Regions from separate parts of the Homo sapiens genome. Here region 2 is linked to region 1. Evidence: promoter capture Hi-C in 16 types of primary human blood cells and fetal thymus (Javierre and others, 2016). All regions are on one chromosome and are shown on one strand. Each heading gives the region's core, a stretch centred on a gene start or on the middle of the fragment in contact. The rest is flanking DNA. Distances are from core to core; before and after follow the strand shown. Region 1 holds the start of GRIK5 (glutamate ionotropic receptor kainate type subunit 5). Region 2 overlaps MEGF8 (multiple EGF like domains 8).

What was found. Contacts are between HindIII fragments. The CHiCAGO score rates a contact against its expected background, and 5 or more counts as called.
Region 2: a fragment that was not itself captured here is called in contact with the fragment with the promoter of GRIK5 in region 1 in 1 of 17 cell types (naive CD8 T cells); the score reaches 5.0 in naive CD8 T cells.

Annotation. Positions count from the first base shown.
Region 1 is chr19:42,068,636-42,072,208 of GRCh38, forward strand. It overlaps GRIK5 (glutamate ionotropic receptor kainate type subunit 5), which reads right to left and starts at 1,571. Exons shown (of 20, transcript NM_002088.5): 1 at 606-1,571. It also overlaps a transcript of ZNF574 not described here. The HindIII fragment of the contact is 24,593 bases long and covers 1-3,573 here.
Region 2 is chr19:42,330,418-42,333,990 of GRCh38, forward strand. MEGF8 (multiple EGF like domains 8) reads left to right here. Exons shown (of 42, transcript NM_001271938.2): 2 at 3,188-3,351. Among named protein-coding and RNA genes, the nearest start is that of MEGF8, 6.6 kb to the left of the region's middle. The HindIII fragment of the contact is 2,877 bases long and covers 459-3,335 here.

The DNA of each region.
Region 1 (3,573 bases), core at 321-2,820:
ACCTGCCGAGGGAGACTTGGAAAGAGGGAAGCCAGGGTGGAGGAGTTCTGACAGAGAGAGGGATCTAAACAGAGACATGCCGAGAGCAACCTGGGCTAACAGCAAAGAGAGAAGTTGGGCAGAGTCAGAGAGGGGCCCAAGAGACACAGGAAATGGGGGCTCAAAAGCGGAAAGACATATCCAGGAGATAGAGACTGGACGGGGTGGGGACAGGGCCAAGGCCCACCGCAGGCAGAGGATGAGGCTCAGAGGAACAGAAAGAGCCAGTCTGGGACCAGGACGGAGGCTTGGAGACAGCAGGGGCACGGACATGCCAGGGGCCCGGGGTAAGTGAGAGCCCAAGTAAGAGCAATCAGCCCCGTAGGACCCCAGAAAGCTAGAGGGCCAGGGGCGGCAGTGAGCTATGTACCCAGAAGAAGAGGTGAGAAGAGGTCGAGGTGAATGGACGCTGAGGAGATGGAGGGCGCAGAGCAGGCCCCTAGTGGGGGAGGGTACTTGCCAGTCCGGAGAACGGGGAGAATGTGGTGCCCCCCTGCCAGGCGGCACCAGAGCCCAGCCTTCCAGGACCCAGAACCCAGCCCAATCCCTGCCCTGCAGACACTCACGGATCCTGGTGGGACGGAGGGCTGGGCTCCCTCGAGGCCCGAAGACCGACAGCGGGAGGTGCTCTGGCGCTGGGTGGTGGTGGGGCTGGGCGGGGGGAGAGGGCAGTCCACAGGGCCCCCTCCCCCGCCGCCGGTGGTGGCTCCCAACTAATCCAAAACGGTGGCTCCACAGGAGCAGGGAGGAAGGACAGGTGGAAGAGGAGAGGGCGGGCCGGGGAGGGGAGGAAGGGGAAAGGAGAAAATGGAGGAGAGAAGGGGAGAGAGGAGAGGGGGAAGGAGCAAATGGAGGGGAAGGAGGGAGGAAAGGAGGAGAGGAAGGTGAAAACGGAAGGGGGGGGCACAGGCAAAGCCGGGGGAGGGGGAAGCTGGCCCAGGAAAGGGCCCCCGCCCCCTCCCCTAGCCGGGCCGGCCTGGGGGGGCCACAGGGGGCGAGGACTGGGTGGAGAAAAGGAAGCCGGCCATCAGGAGAAGTGGGGGAGGGGAGGGCCTGCTGGGGGAGGGGGCCGCCCCCTTTCCCCCTCCCCCCTGGAGCCTGGGCCCTGCCCTGGTTGAGGCAAGGGCCCGGAGTCCTCAAGCCCTCAGCCCCCACGGGAAAAGCATGCTGGGGGCGGGGAGAGCCCGGGAGTGGAGAGCTGGGGAGGATGGAGAGCTGGGAGACCCGGAGAGGCCAAGAAGGGGGCAAATGAGGTGGAGAGATAGGGAGGAGGGAGAGGAGGATGGAGAGGAGCAGGTGGAAGAGAAAGGCGGAGGAGGGTGGGGTGTCCCAGGGGCTCCCGGTGCTGGGCCTCAGTGGGAGGGCCTGGCGACACACTCCTGGTCCCCTGTGAGGAGCCGGCTCCAGTCCCCGGCTCCAGTCCCCGGCTGGGCCTGCCTCCCTGCCGCTGGCTGCCGCCACCGCTCAGTCTCCCCTCCGAGGCCGCCGCCTGCCTGCCCGCCTGCCGCCTGCGCTGGGTCCTGGAGCGCAGTGGGGTGGTTCAGGAGAGAGAGAAGAGGGAGGGAGGGAGGCAGGGAGGAGGGCGGGCAGGAGGAAGGGAGGGAGGCAGGCAAAGAGAGAGTAGGGAGGTGAGTCGGGGGAGGGGGAGCCTGTATTGGTTGGGGCTGGGGGCCCCCCGCGAGGAGAATGCTGATGAGAAGAAGGAGCTGCATTGGATGGAAGGCCCACCCCCGAGCCACCCCCTCTACCACACCATGCCACCGCCCTGCCCAGGCAGCCCTGGGCACAGGAGCCCACAGAGATGAGAGGCAAGAAGACCCAGGGAGAAGGCCACTGAGATGAGGGGAGAGGGCTACAGAGATGAAGAGAAATGAAGAGAAGAGAGACAGCCGTCAAGACTGTCCAGAGAAGTGGGCTGAGGCCCACAAACCCCACAAGGACAAGGACAGGAAAAGCCCAGGGATAAGAAAGAAAGGCCCATGGAGACAAGGGAGCAGCCTACAGAGACAAGCAAAAGGACCTCGGAGACAAGGGGCAGTAATGTGGACATAGAGACCTCCCGCGAAGGAAAACGGGAGAAGCCAGAGACACAAGAGAGAGGCCCCTGGAAACAGAAAGCACTCCTCAGATATGGGGAGCGGTCCACAGGGCAGGGAGAGAGCCAAGGAGAGCCGAAGAAGGTCACAGAAACAAGGGAGGCCTACAGACACCAGGGTACCAAAAAGACAAGGATGTGGCTCATAGACACAAGAGAGCCACTGAGGCAGGAGCTGCCAGCCTGGAGATGCGGGGCAAGCCTCCCCCAATATAAATAGCTCCTATAGAGGTGAGGGGATGGGTGGTGAGTATGAGAATTCCCTATAGTGCACAGAGAAATCCTTGGGACCCACAGAGATGAGTGGGTGGAGAGAAGGGGCCCTCATTCTCTAGTCACAGGAGCAGAGAGGCAGTGGGAAAGGTGGATGGGACAAGGAGAGGAAGCTGGAGGGCAGAGCCAGAAGTGGGAGACTCCTTCCCAGGGAACACCCTGCAGCCTCTCAGAAGGAGCTGAGCAGGACAGGGGGATGGAAGAGAGAAGCGACACAGATCTTGGAGTGGGGGTGGGTGGTGCATGGCTGGGTGGGGGGTGAAATTTGGGGGGAAGAAACATGACAGTTGGCGCCGAAGGCTGAGCCCGTGACTCACCACCACCCCCGATGCTCGTGATGGGGAGGAGACACTGACACACTCACGTGCGGCCCACAGCATATGTGACCGCATGCCTCGAACACACAGCTGGCACATGGCAACTCCTGGACCACATGCCAGCCCAGCACAGGAAGCCCTCTGCAAGCTGGCATGTGGGGCATCCTGGACACACATCTGACACATATATCTGACGCTGAAGGACCACCAACTTTGCACACACCTCCTTACCCCACTTGGTCAACATCTACACCGCCCCCTCAAACATCCACACTTAACTCCAGTCAGGCCTAAAAGCCCAGATTCACACCTGCCTCTGGGACTTTGCTTATGAAGGACCTCAACACAGAACACCATCCTTTCGACCAGGGCGGTGGCTCATTCCTGTAACCCCAGCACTTTGGAAGGCCGGGGCAGGTGGACCACCTGAGGTTGGGAGTTCAAGACCAGCCTGGCCAACATGGCAAAACCCCGTCACTACTAAAAATACAAAAATTAGCCAGGCCCGGTGGCACACTCCTTTAGTCCCAGCTACTTGGGAGGCTGAGGCACAAGAATTGCTTGAACCTAGGAGGCAGAGGTTGCTGTGAGCCATGATCATGCCACTGCACTCCAGCATGGGAGACAAAGCGAGACTCCATCTCCAAAAAAAAAACAAAAAACAAAAACCAACCACCATCCCCTCTAAATTCAACCTGTCCCGGAAATCCCAGCCAGTCCTGCACTACCACCTCCAGAAAGACCTCAGCTTATCCTCAGCTTATTCCTATATGATCTGGAGAAAAGAGACCTGCACCACCCAAATCAAGTTGAGAAGTCCAAGCAAAAGGCCTGAGAAGTTACCTGGAT
Region 2 (3,573 bases), core at 647-3,146, 260 kb after region 1:
TTCCAGAAACAGAGCTTTATAGTTTGGTTGAGGCTGGTAAGATTCTGGGAGGTCTGGTTGTGTGGCCGTGCTGAATGGTTCTTCTGCATTCCCCAAAGCATGGGTGGGGTCTGTGTCTGATGTCTTGGGGGCTCTGGTTAGAGCCTGAGGGAGAGCTTCCAGCTTTAGTATTCTGTCTTTTATGTATTTCTTCATTTCATCATCCAGCATTTCCTGAGCCTTTGCCAAGCCCGGGTCTGGGCAATGCTGCAGAGGGAATTAGGTCCACATCCAGGCCCTGCTCTATGGGCCTTGTAGGCTGCAGGGAGACAGACCTGGACATAGATGTTCCTGGCCCAGAGGAATGAAGGTTATAATGGGATGTGAGAACCCTGGAGAGGGGGCATCTAACCCAGCTAGGGGGCATCAGGAAGAGGCCTGGTGGTGGGAAGGGATAATATGTTGCAGACAGAGGGAGAAGCTTGTACAAAGGCCCAGCTCCCATTAGAGCTGTAAGCAGTGGGGTGATTTGAGACAAAGCGAGGGTCTGAACAGCAGGTTAGGGACCTGGACTTTCTCCTAGGGTGGTAGGGAGCCATGCAGGGCTTTGGGGCAGGGGAGGGACGGGGCCAGATGTTGAGTTGGGAAGATCAGAGACTCATGTCAGGGGAAGAAGGAGGTTGGATCAGTGGTTCTGGTGAGACAGGATGAGGCCGGGCAGCCAGGGCACACTCTGGCTCTAAGCTGGCAGGCTGGAGTCATCACCTCGTTGAATGTTCACCCCAGCCTTTGTGGGTGGGGGGAATTATCCCCATTTTACAGTCATGGAAACTAAGGCTCAGAGAGCCCATGGAACTGGCCCAGGATCACCCAGCCATTGGCAGTGGTGGCTGAGTGTCTCCAGGATCCAGATAGGCACACTGAGGGTCATGGGGGAAAGGGCTGGCCCAGGGTCCTCCAGCTGGTCATGGGCAGAGCCAGAGCCAGAGCCAGAGCCTAGGCCTCCTAATTTCCCTCACCCAGAGGACTCCCCTGAGCTGCCTGTTCAGAAGGCTTCTCATGTGGGATGTGGAATGAGAGAGGCTACCTGAACTAGGACTGGCAGAGAATAAGACAGTGACAGTGTTAGGGGTAGTGGCACTCTCCACGATATGTGGGCCCCATTGTCAACATTTCTTTTTTTTTTTTTTGAAACAGAGTTTCACTCTTGTCGCCCAGGCTGGAGTGCAATGGCATGATCTCAGCTCACTGTAACCTCTGCCTCCCGGGTTCAAGAATTCTCCTGCCTCAGCCTCCCAAATAGCTGGGATTACAAGCATGTGCCACCATATCCAGCTAATTTTTTGTATTTTTAGTAGAGACGGGGTTTCACCATGTTGGCCAGGCTGGTCTCGAACTCTTGACCTCAAGCGATCCACCCACCTTGGCCTCCCAAAGTGCTGGGATTATAGGCGTGACCCACGGCACCCAGCCTCTTTTTTTTTTTTGAGTCCCCTCTGTCGCCCAGGCTGGAGTGCAGTGGTGCAATCTTGGCTCACTGCAACCTCTGCCTCCCGGGTTCAAGCAATTCTCCTGCCTCAGCCTCCTGAGTAGCTGGGACTTGCACCACCATGCCTGGCTAATTTTTGTATTTTTTTTTAGTAAGAGACAGGGTTTCACCATGTTGGCCAGGCTGTTCTGGAACTCCTGACCTCAGGTGATCCACCTGCCCTGGCCTCTCAAAAGTGCTGGGATTACAGGCGTGAGCCACCCACCCCACTCTGTTGTCACCATTTCGTGTGCATTATTGCTCCTCATGAGGTTGCAGTCAGATGTCAGCTGGGGCTGCAGTCAGCTGAATGTTCACCTTGGCTGGACATCCAGGAAGGTCCCTCCCAGGGCTGGCAGTTGATGCTGGCTGTCAGCTGGAAGCTCAGTTGGGACTGTCAGCCGGAATGCCTGTGTGTGGCCTTTTCTTGTGGCTTTGGCTTTTCTTTGTTTTTTTTTTTGAGACGAAGTCTCGCTCTTGTCCCCCAGGCTAGAGTGCAATGGCACAATCTCGGCTCACTGCAACCTCTGCCTCCCAGGTTCAAGCAATTCTCCTGCCTCAGCCTCCCAAGTAGCTGGGATTACAGGCACCCGCCACCATGCCCAGCTAATTTTTGTATTTTTAGTAGAGACGGGGTTTCGCCATGTTGGCTAGGCTGGTCTCAAACTCCTGTCCTCGTGATCCGCCTGCCTTGGCCTCTCAAAGTGCTGGGATTACAGGTGTGAGCCACCGTGCCCAGCCGGCTTTGGCTTTTCCTATCATGACAGCTGTGTTCTGAGAAGGAGCATTCTACGAGGCCCAGGTGAAAAGTACAAGTCTTCTTATGATCTAGCCTTGGAAGTTTCAGAATTTCTGCTGTTTTTTTATTGGTCAAGCAAGTCACTAAGGCTCTTCCCAGATACGAGAGGCAGGGAATTAACTTTCAATGGCAGGAGTGGCCTATAAGTTTGATTCCACCACAGTACCACTATATCCCACTTTAGAGATGAGGAGACCGATCCAGAGGGGGTGGGTTACTTGGCCAAGATCACACAGCTGGTAGCTATTTGGTGGCAGAGCCAAGACATAAGCTCAGGCAGTCTGGTTCCAGAGTTTGTGCTTGTAACCATCACAATAAGCAGAGGTGAGACTCTGGATGGGGACAGAGGGGAACTATGCCGCTCCAAGGTTAGGCCTCTGTTCTGGGGGAAGAAGCTGGACTCTTCTCTTGCAGCTCTATTCAGCGTGGGCCAGGGGTGGTGTCACGGAGGTGCTCTTCTCACTGGGATTATGACCTTGACCCTCCAGCCTGGACATGTCTGAAACTCAGGCATGGACAGGAAGAGAGAGGCATCAGGAACACTGGATTCTGCTCTGTGTGGCCACTGGGATGGGGTTTTCTCTGTACTTAATTTTCCCATCTGAATGGTGGGAGTGTTCATTCTGATCTCAGGTGACCTTTCTAGAGGTCTGGAATATTATGATTCTTTCTCTGGGCTCCTGTCCCTCTGGCTGTCACAGCCCTTGACTGCCCTAGGTTATGAGACTGGGGGCCCCTTCAAGGCGGGGCCCAGGTCTGACTCATTCTTGAGCCCCCAGCATCACCTGGATCAGGGTTTGGTGTACAATTGTGGGAGGCTGCAGGGAGGTGTGGGGAGAAGGTCCGCTTTAGAGCTTGGTCCCTCTGTGCTCACCTCCCAGCCCCAAGCCCCCAGCACCGGATCCTGCTGGACTTCCTTTTCCTGGACACAGAGTGCACGTATGACTACCTGTTCGTGTATGACGGTGACTCCCCGCGAGGGCCGCTGCTTGCCAGTCTAAGTGGGAGCACCCGACCTCCGCCCATCGAAGCTTCCTCAGGCAAGGTTAGTGGGGATGGGGCCGTGGCAGATACACCGAGGGAAATGGAAGAAGAAAGGAGGGACAGAGAGTCAGTAAGAGGGCATCCAAGAGCAGAGCACAGGGACAAGGGAAGGTGGAGAGAGGCAAAGGAAGGAGATGAGGCTCTGGGTCCCCCAGGGTGGAAGGGGGCAGGAGTGGGCCACCCTCCCAGGACAATCCCCAGGCCCTGCCCACCTTACCCAGCA